Linked DNA regions of Homo sapiens: all the other regions are linked to region 3. The links are contacts of gene promoters, found by promoter capture Hi-C in blood cells and fetal thymus (Javierre and others, 2016). All regions are on one chromosome and are shown on one strand. Each heading gives the region's core, a stretch centred on a gene start or on the middle of the fragment in contact. The rest is flanking DNA. Distances are from core to core; before and after follow the strand shown. Region 1 overlaps TTC21B (tetratricopeptide repeat domain 21B). Region 2 holds the start of LOC100506124 (a long non-coding RNA gene). Region 3 holds the start of CSRNP3 (cysteine and serine rich nuclear protein 3).

Region 1 (3,360 bases), core at 548-3,047, 430 kb after region 3:
TCAATCAAATTACTCAAATTCTTTGAGTCCAATATACTTATTTTCTTAAAATAGGATTATAATATTGACTGTAGGAGTGCTACAGAAATAAAGGCATGAAAAATATTTATAAATTACAAATGTTATTAATAATATTTATACTTCCAAAAATGTTGACAAGAAATAGAGTAACTACCCCATAATAAAGCCACAGCATCTGGAAGCTATATTGGATTAAGCAAGAACTAAAGGTTAAAATTTCGGATTAAATTTTTTTTGCATGATACTGCTAGTATTATCAACATTGGGAAGGCAATTTCTTGAATATTTCTTATATACTATTGAAATGTATTCATTATTAGTTCAAGTTATAATTACCAGTGACAGATTAAATTACATTCACTTGTCTTTGGTTAACCATGACATTTGACAGAAGGCAAATTTCTGCACTTAAGAAATGTATTAAAAACTAAAATGTATATTACCTTCTAAAAAACTTAGCTGGTCCATCTTTATTGATGAATAGTAGGAAGATATCAAAATAGTTATAGGGTGATGAGATGTGGCAAGCATGCAGTGCTATGGTATGGTATTACAAAGCACAGGATTCTTAACTTTGCCTGGAGGAGTTGGGAAATTTCACATAGGAGTTGACCTTTGAGCAGCCTCAAGGATAGGAGGAAGATCTTACTAGACGGACAAAGGCATTCCAAGTAGCAGAAGGCATGCGCCAAGAGGGAAGCAGAGAACAGTGTGGGGAGTGTTGGTAACTTTGATATTATTAAAGCGGAGGAAGAAGGATAAGAAATATAAATGGCCAAATAATTTGCGGCCATATTATTATTAAAATAATGCTATGATTTTAGACTTTATCCTGAAGCACTAACTTAAATTTTAAGCAAAGGGTAGGTTTTGATTTTTAGAACTGATATGCTAGTCCTATGATGACCTGGAGCAGCCAGAACCTAGAAGCTGGAAGATGAGTTGGGAATCTGCACTAGTTCAGATGAGAGGTGATAAGGGTCTTCATTAGAGCAGTGGGTTAGGATACGACAGACTGGATGTGTTAGCTAGCTATCAAGCAAACAGAGCTGAGGAGACATGTTAACCAATTAGTATGAAGGAAGGGGAAAGCTCAAGGCGATCTGGAGATTCTGAGAGAGAAAAGGGGCAATCTGTCGTGAGAGCAGTAATTAGATCTAGAAGAGGAATTTTTCAACTACTTAAATTAGGTCAAATTTGTATGGTACATTTCTGAAATAAGCTAAAATAGAGCCTTAATCTAAAGTACAAGATGAGTTACTGAGGATAACCAATAATGTACACATAAAATGAACGGAGATGCATGTTTTAGAGTAATTCCAACAAAATAGATCTGTGGATAAGTATGTAAGGTACTAGTAAGAATAAAGCATACAACACAAGATTAAAAACTCTTAAGATTAAAAATATCACATAGACAATAAAAATTTACTTAAAATTTTGTGGTTGTTTTTGAGACCAAGTCTCACTCTGTCACCGAGGCTGGAGTGCAGTGGTGTGATCTTGGCTCACGGCAACCTCCACCTCCCAGGTTCAAGCGATTCTCCTGCTGTGTTTTTAATTGACTTGGTGTTTTACAGTCATTCACTGATCCATTCAACCAATAAACATCTATGTTGCCACATCCATGTGTGTGGCATTTTGTCTGATATTGGGAATATGGTGTGATCCCTGAACTCGAGGAGTCTACAGTGTAATAAAGAACACAAATATGCACATAAATATTTTTAGTAAAATACTATAAGTAATAAAGACGTATGGACAAAGTAACCGAGGATTAGGGTTACCAACTCATCCCAGTTTGCCTGTGACTTTCTGTTAGCATGGGAAGTCCTGCATCCAGGAAAACCCTTTGCTCCGAGGCAAATCTAGGATGGTTGGTCATGCTACCCAGCACCACATAAGACATTTTTTAATGTAGGTGGTGGTAGTGGGATGCAGATTTACTTTTTTATTTTCCCCCAAGAGGGATATATTTTAGATTATGTGTTTGGAAAGAGAAAAGGGATAAGGAAGCTAAAGTTCATTTTAGGCAAAAGGAAAAAACCCAAGCAAAGACTTGGAAGCATGGTTGTATGTCATTTGGTGTTGCTGGAGTACAAGATCCTTATATTGCATTTATAAAAAATTGCTTTTATATTTGTTTACAAACAGTCCAAAGCAGCCAGTCTACTAAGCCAATTTTTTTGGGAAAAAGGCTGCTGCCAAGCAACAGAAACTTACGTGAAACAAAACCCACAAGACACATGAAGACTTCTTCAAATCTTAGAAAACTATAATGTGTGAGATTCTTCAAATCTTAGAAAACTATAATACTTTTAATGACTTAAAATATTCACAGTGGAAGAAGTCTGTTTTTTAAAGAAATAAAGTTAGATCATTGTCTCAAAGGGAAAGACTGTGAAATGGGAACAGCTTGAGATAGAATGAATATATTATGTATATTACTTTTAAATGGTAGTTTAGAGAAGAGGAATAAGAGAAAACAGTGTGGAACACAAGGTAGAAATGGCAGGGAAAAAAACGATACAGGCCTGAAGAAAATAAAAGTAGGTTTGGGCAATGTGGGTGGCAAGATGAGCCCATATTTTGGACCCAGAGTGAGTGGAAGAGGTGAGATGGTCAAGTAGTTCACAGCATTCTTTTAAATAACATCTGAGTATACTCTGGAATAGACAGGGCAAAAAACAAATGAAATTGCCTGTGGTAGTCCCCATATTAAATAAATTTAATTTATTTAATTAAAAAACTCAAAGAGTAAAAATAATAAAGAGAAAGTGTTGATATTACTGTAAAAAACAGACCATATTTTCTCCTTTCAATTTTTGTGCTCGCTGGGGATATTTTATTTTTAAATACAAACTGATGTTCTCTAAATTCAAACATCTTTTTATTAAAAGCGTTACTAGAGGTAGCCTGCAGAGCATATCTAGTTCTTTGAGTTGCCCTGCTTGAAGGATTGCCACCTCTGTGTCTCTGAGGCTCTGAGCACAGATGCCTAGGGCATCAGCCTGAGATGAAGGTGGTGGGGTTTAGAAGAACTGAAACACAGCTCTAGGACTTCCTCTGCCATTTCAAACTCTTTTTAGTAACACAGGTAGTAACATACAGTCATGTATTAGTCAAACAGTTCCCACCTCTTTCTTTTTCTCTTTCCTCTCCTCCCTCCATCCCTGCTTCCCTTTCTTCCTTTTCTCCCTCACTCTTCTTTCCATCTAGTATTTGTTGAGTACTAACTAGGCCAGATATTCTTCTAAATTCTGGAAACACAGCAGTGAAGGACAACGTTTCTGGTCACTTGATGCTTCCATTCTATGATTTGTAGTTTTTTGCTTTTGT
Region 2 (3,394 bases), core at 439-2,938, 400 kb after region 3:
GAGGGAAGGTGTGAATGAATGAGAATCTCAAATCCTGTAGGGCTGAGCTCTCTAGGGGACTTTACTCATCCTTTTAATCTTGCTTTGAACTGCATTTTCTCTTCTCAGTTGCAATTACTACTTTGCCCTGTTCTGCTTATAAGAGGAGCTACTATTAAGAGCCTAGTGAGTCAGATTCATTATAGGTTTTATATAAGTTCCCTTTAATCCTTACAACCTGAGGCAGGTTATTATCCTTATATGCTTGTTTATGGGTGAGAAAACTGAGGCTGAGAGTGTGTAACTTGGAGAAAGATGAAACATCTAGGTAATGGTAGAGCCAAAACTTAAATCCAGGCTGGTCTGATTTCAGATCCATGCTCTTGACTGCTACACTATAGTGCTCCTCAATTAGACTGCTCTTTAATAGTTTCTACATTTGTAACAGCTGTTCATTCCACTCAGTCCATCTTGTTCTTCATTATTTAGCTATCTCTGTGATACACCAGTTTCTTCTGCTAGCCAGATGTAGAAAAGATCACTTCTTCTTACAGAAACATTATCTCTTAGTTATAGAAGGCATCTTAATATAATAAATAAGGCAGAGGCTTTGAAGTTGACTGGGCCAGTATGGAATTCAGGTTCTGACACTTTTCTCTGTGACCCTGGGCAAATCATTTAGTCCAGGTCTCACCTTTCTTATCTGAAAAGTGGGAATATTATTTCTCTTAATAGCTGACTGAAAATTAAAAGACATAAAGTAAGGAAAGTCCCTAAAATAGCATCTAACAAATGGCAGGTGCAAAATAAATGGCTGCTTAAGAAACAAAAACAAAACCTTCCTCTCCTCTTACAGATAGGAAAACTGATTTGGAAATGTCTTGCTGAGAGAACAGATGCTCTATTTCTCTATCCAATTTCCATGATTCCAGCATCCCATGACACAAGTTCACTGGAACTACTAAAGGCATTCTGTTAATGTGATTTCTGCCTGAGTCAGCTCCGGCTGCAATAATAAAATATCATAAACTGGTGGGCTTATCAACAAAAGAAATCTGTTTCTCACAGTTCTGGAGGCTGGAAGTCTGAGATCACGGTTCCAGCACCACCAGGTTCTGGTGAGGACCCTCTTTTGGGTTGCAAATAGTTGACTTCTTATTTTGTCCTCACATGGTAGAAAGATAGCTAGAGAACTCTCTGGGATCCTCTTTTTAAGGGCACTAATCGCACTCGCAAGGGCTTCAGCCTTATGACCTAATTATTTCCTAAAGCTTCACTTCCCAATACTATCACATTAAAGACTAGGATGTCAACATACGAAGTTTGGGGTACACAAACATTCAGTCCATAGCATTGTCCTTAAAAATGTCCACTCAGGCTGAAAGATATTTCTCCACCTGAATTAAAGAAAAAGAGGTAATGTTTCACGATTCCAGATTTGTAAAACAGGGATAATAATGCCGGCATTTTAGGTTTGTGAAGATCAAATGTAAGGAATATGAAAGTATTTTAACATATATGAAGTGACTTATAAATTCTATTATTAAACATTCTATGAAATGCCATAAATAAAAGCTAGGTGACAAGGCGGCCAGATTACTTGAGGCCAGAAGTTCGAGACCAGCCTAGCCAACATGGCGAAACCCCATCTCTACTGCAGATACAAAAATTAGCCAGGCGTGGTGGCGTGTGCCTTTAGTCCCAGCTACTCAAGAAGCTGACGCAGGAGAATTGCTTGAACCCAGGAGGTAGAGGTTGCAGTGGGCCAAGATCGCACCACTGCACTCCAGCCTGGGCTACAGAGTAAGACTCTGTCTCAAAGAACAACAACAACAAAAAACCCCACAAAAAACTGTTTTGCTAAGTGAAAAGAAGAATAATTGGAATTTTATAACGTAATTGAAATTAAAGGGATTTTGAAAAATGGGAGAAATGATCAGAAACAAGAGAATGGAGTTCAAAACAAACACAGGACATTTAATAAAAAGCAGCAAATGACTTATAAATACTGTTTATTGTAAATGCAAATAAAATTGAGGACTGTGTTTACTACAATTTTAAGGAAAATTGAAAAAGATGTAGATGAGAAATTAAAAATAATGCTAAGGATTAAGTTTAGATTAGGTTAAATTTAGTGTAAGAGAGTGAAAGCTTCTATGCCAGGGTGCTGTTAAACAGAGCTGGGTAAACCGTTGCCTTCACATGGTGTGCTTTGTGACTCCCTGCTGACCAAAAGTATTTGGTCACCCTTTACCATCAAATGTTACAGTGTCTGAAATTATACCTGCAGACCAAGTCTTCTAGGCTAAGGTTAAATATCCCTAATAAGGGACCTATTTAAATTGAGGTTTCAGGACCTGATTATTTCTTAAGACCACAATGGCCTTGAAAGCAGGAAGAATGAGCTCAAGAAAGGAAAGGGAAACACACACTCTACCCTTTTCTAAAAAAGATTTTTCAATGAAAGTTACATTTTCTGTACTATACCACCACCCATTAACATTACAGAATGCAGGGGGAGCTTACCCTGATTTGCAAAACTTACCACATCTTTTGAGTTCCAAGAGGAATATAAATCATCTATTTATAAAACCTTTATTAAAATATATATTTAAAATATATATATTGTCTTTTTCATGAGTTATTTACAGGGAGATTTATTCCAATTTTTGAAACAACACAGAATACAACAAAAACAGGCTGGGTGCGGTGGCTCATGCCTGTAATCCCAGCACTTTGGGAGGCCGAGGCAGGTGGATCACAAGGTCAAGAGATCAAGCCCCTCCTGGCTAACACGGTGAAATCCCATCTCTACTAAAAATACAAAAAATTAGCCGGGTGTGATGGCACATGCCTTTAGTCCCAGCTACTCGGGAGGCTGAAGCAGGAGAATCGCGTAAACCCAGGAGGCGGAGGTTGCAGTGAGCCAAGATCGTGCCACTGCACTCCAGCCTGGGCGGCAGATCAAGGCTCTGTCTTTAAAAATAAATAAATAAATAAAAGAATATAACAAAAACACTTTAAAAGAGAACAATGCATTTTAAATATATTTCCTGAAATAATATTCCTTAGAAAAGATACAGGGTATTTAATTACCTAGATTTTAACAAAATATTCTTTATAGAAATAATTATAGTCTTTACCACAGAGTCACCAAATCTGTACCCAATCAAAACAGAGTCAAATAGACCAGCTCTCATTCAACTCCATTAGGAAACACCAATTTCACATAGTACTTCTCTTGATGTACAGCAGCAACCTCTGCTGGAGAAAAAAGGGTATACTTCTAATAACAAAGCACTGAGCTCAAACCTGTTTTGAACAGGAAGAACTGAAAGTTAGATTTCTTTCATTTCCTGTTAAACCAACACCTAAGTTAAAATTATTTTCAAGGTCTTAAAGACGCACGGGCCTT
Region 3 (3,694 bases), core at 1,137-3,636:
AATGAACATGGTAATACAGATATCTTTACAAAGTTGTGATTCCACTTCTGAGTATATGCCCAGAAGAGAGATTGCTAGATCATATGGTAGTTCTATTTTTAATTTTTTTACAATCATCCATACTGTTTTTCATAATGCTGTAGCAGTTGACATTCCCACCAACAGTGTACAAGAGTACTCTTTTCTCTACACTCTCTCCAACATTTATCTGCAGACATTTTGATAACAGCCGTCCTAATAAATATGAGGTGGTATTTCTTAGTAATTTTGATTTACATTGCCCTGAGGATTGGTGATGCTGAGCATATTTTCATAAACCTGTTGTCCATTTTTATGTCTTCTTTGGAGAAATGTCTATTTGGGCCTTTTGTCCATTTTGTATTGGGTTTGTTTTTCCACTGTTAAGTTTTATGAGTTCTTTATAAAATTTTTATATTAAACCCTTAGGGTGCTCATTTATTTTCATTACTTTAACCGAACCCTAGATGCTGGGGGTTCCAAATTGAACCTACATCCCAGCCTTATTTATGAGTTTAACTGACTATTTAATATTTTAATCTGGATATCCAAAAAGTTCAAAACGTTCAAATTAATTTTGTTATTTTGTTCCCAAATCTCTAAATCTCTCTTTTTTTTTTTTTTCTGAGACAATGGCATCATCATCTAAACAGAAGAAATCTGGTTAGAATTTGTGCCCTGCAAATACTTGCCTACAAGTCTCTGTCTACAATCACACTTGACATATAAATCACCTGGGAGAGCTTGCTAAAAATGCTGAGTCAGAAACTCCTCAAATGCTTATTCATTAAATCTGGAGGAGGCCCATGAACCTGCATTTTTAATGAATCTTCCCCTAGTGGTTCTGATGAAGATGGCCCCGAACAACTATTTCTAAAAATGCTGTCTGTCCTAGGGATTCCTCCAGTTATTCCTAGCAATAGGACCACAAAGGCTTTGAAAGCATTTTTCACAACAGAGGACTTGGCGGTGGGAATAAGCGATAGTTTAGTCTTCCCCATAATCTTTAGCAGAGCCTCCCAAAGCTACTCTAAATAACAGTGCAAACTAAGCAAAATCAGTGCACTCCTATCTAAAGTTAGTATCAGTTTAAGTCACCAGCCATTCCTTTCCTAACAATATTGACACCCCAAGCCCTTCCTGTACAGATATTCCTGGACTAATGATTTGCCACCATGCCAGTAACTCTTAAAGAATGCTTGCTTGCCCTTCCCTCTAATTTTACTCCCTTTGGCCTTATTCCCATGAGGACACATTACTGATTTAAGAAATTGAAGAGCAAGGCTTATAAATACCTCAAGTAGCCAGTACATACCTCTATAGTGGTGATATCTACTGTATATGTCTTTCTAAGGAAATTTTTCAGACCACCTCCACTAGAGGAAGCTCAATTGAGAGAATTTTTATCATAAAGATCCCTGGTTTGTATTACAGTATTTTAAAAATTAAACTGTTTGAAACTGGATGAATTTGCTTTATTGCCTTAAAAAATCCTAATTTGGTGTTTTCTTTAACTGTCCTTTAATGCATGTTATGCCTCTAGGTTCAGAAGTGAAATGATTTTTGTTTAAGTTTATTAGAATAAAATTGGAGTTCAGCTGGTCACTTTGAGGCATGGCAACCAAGTGACTGATCTCTTTTTAATCTTTAATAAGTTCCATTATTCACAAATTGATGGCATTTAAGGAATCTGAAGTAATGCAAACCACATAACTGTGAAATATTTGAATATTCTAATGCTCAGAATGAAATATTTTTCATACTGATTAGGCCTCGAAACTGCGTTTGAATGAAAACATTGTCAAACAGAGGTTGTAGTGCAAATAATATAAAACATAAGTATAAAGGGTGTTGATTCATTTTAATTCTATCTCTTTGCAAACTGAATATGCAAAATGTCATCTTGATGTTCAGTCTCCCTCCTCTGTCTGCATATCAAAATGTATAATGAGGAGGTACACTTTTTTCACTGAGAAAAATCAGTGGGAACTAAAAAACAGGCAATTTACCTAGGTTTTACTATGAGCATTTTGCTTTGATTTCAGGTAGGTGAGGCATTGATTAACTTTATTTTTCTAAATCCAAAGCAAGACTTTTTACTTCAGCTGAGGTCATCTGCAGACATTTTCCATAGTTGGGAGCTATTTTTTGAAATATCTTGCATCTCTGCTTTTCTCTCCATATTTCTTTTCTCCACTCGCTTCCTCTCTCCCAGCTGCAGGGATTCGTCCTCTAAAAGAGTGGAGGTGGGAGGGAACAAGAAATGGAAGCAAAGCAGGGAGCATGAGCTAGAGAATGCCAGGATCTGGCTTTTGTTATTGGTTGGCTGCCGCCTGATGGATAGACGAGGGAGGAGTGTACTCTCTTCAGTGTGTTCTGACGGAGCCGAAGTACAGAAACCATATTTACAGGTAAGAGCGAAAAATAAAAAAAAAGAAAAGAGAATTCTTTTTTTCTTTAAAAGAGAATGCTTCTTAATTTTTACGGAAACAATTTTATAGTAGGAAAATTATTCTGAGGACATTTTCTGAAAGTGTGTCCCTTTTATTACTTGAGGAAGCTTTGCAATGAGCTTGCTGTTCTTTCTCTCTGCAAAATCCTTAGCTGATTAAAAACAAAACAAAACAATCACCAGAGGCATGTCTTATCCTAAATAACTTTCTATGCAAGTGTCACTGAAGCAAAATTAATAGATAAAATGAATCATCATGTGTCTCTTCAAAAATGTTTAATTCAAGCTTGTTACTAGGAATCGCAGGAAGGATGAGAAAACCTCGGTAAATTCCACAGGTCCTGAGAAAATGGAGCCTTCTGTGAATATACAATATAAAATTTCATGTGATGGCTTTTAATATTGACAATACAGTAAAAGGCTTAGGAAAACTATTTTTGCAGGTTGTAGACTCTTTTAGCATTAATTTAGAATGAATGATTTGTGTGCATTTAAGCCCTGTTATTTAACTTACTCCTCTTGATAAATCTCATGTTGTTCAATATTTGCATTATTTTATTCAGCAAACTTTAAGCTTATGTGATAATTAAACAATGGTTTGTCTCTACTTGTTAACTTACATGGAGCCATTTTTATTTTAAAGCACAGAAACCTAATTTTGAAAGATTAAACATTGCTGTAAAAAATAGCATCTTAACAGTCATGTTTCATGGGTAGTTTAATTTATCAGTCAAACACATCTAGATAAGAATTCCATCAGAGCATTTATATTGTTGATAATATCTCTAGGCAATTTTTTTTTAGCAACTTTACTAGGTGCTTGTATCTCCTAATATGGTCCTTTATATTGCCTTAGGGAAAAAAGGGACAAGTTCTAAGTATGTAGAATAAATAACACACTTGCAGTAAAAACATACAAAAAAACTGAACTCCCAGTCACTTAATTCTTTACTTTAATTCATAAATACAGGTCATTTAACGGTGGTAGAACCTCATTAAAATTGAACTTTCAAGAATTATGACTGACTTCAGTACACTGGCCATCGATTAATACCTGTTGATTATAATAATAAAATAAAAGTCTTTCAATGAGGTAAATAATTTGTTCCTACATATTTTAATACCTTTTTGAATGAATCAAAACTAATAGGAATGACTATATAATTTCTAAATATTTTTTGCTATTGTTTTTCTTTTTGTTTATTGTTTTTCAAATTTTTTTAT

What was found. The method cuts DNA at HindIII sites, captures the fragments that hold promoters and counts their contacts. A CHiCAGO score of 5 or more calls a contact.
Region 1: a contact is called between a fragment that was not itself captured here and the fragment with the promoter of CSRNP3 in region 3, in 1 of 17 cell types (total B cells). The highest score is 5.9, in total B cells.
Region 2: a fragment that was not itself captured here is called in contact with the fragment with the promoter of CSRNP3 in region 3 in 2 of 17 cell types (naive B cells and M0 macrophages); the score reaches 9.5 in naive B cells.

The regions. Positions count from the first base shown.
Region 1 is chr2:165,893,118-165,896,477 of GRCh38, forward strand. The region is part of intron 22 of TTC21B (tetratricopeptide repeat domain 21B); the gene reads right to left. Among named protein-coding and RNA genes, the nearest start is that of TTC21B-AS1, 39 kb to the right of the region's middle. The HindIII fragment of the contact is 5,279 bases long and covers 1-3,360 here.
Region 2 is chr2:165,871,388-165,874,781 of GRCh38, forward strand. TTC21B (tetratricopeptide repeat domain 21B) reads right to left here. Exons shown (of 29, transcript NM_024753.5): 29 at 1,975-3,394. The coding sequence ends at 3,368. It overlaps LOC100506124 (a long non-coding RNA gene), which reads right to left and starts at 554. Exons shown (of 4, transcript NR_045375.2): 1 at 1-554. RefSeq lists an enhancer at 3,167-3,366. The HindIII fragment of the contact is 880 bases long and covers 1,249-2,128 here.
Region 3 is chr2:165,467,312-165,471,005 of GRCh38, forward strand. CSRNP3 (cysteine and serine rich nuclear protein 3) reads left to right here and starts at 2,387. Exons shown (of 7, transcript NM_001172173.2): 1 at 2,387-2,429. The HindIII fragment of the contact is 3,341 bases long and covers 1-2,576 here.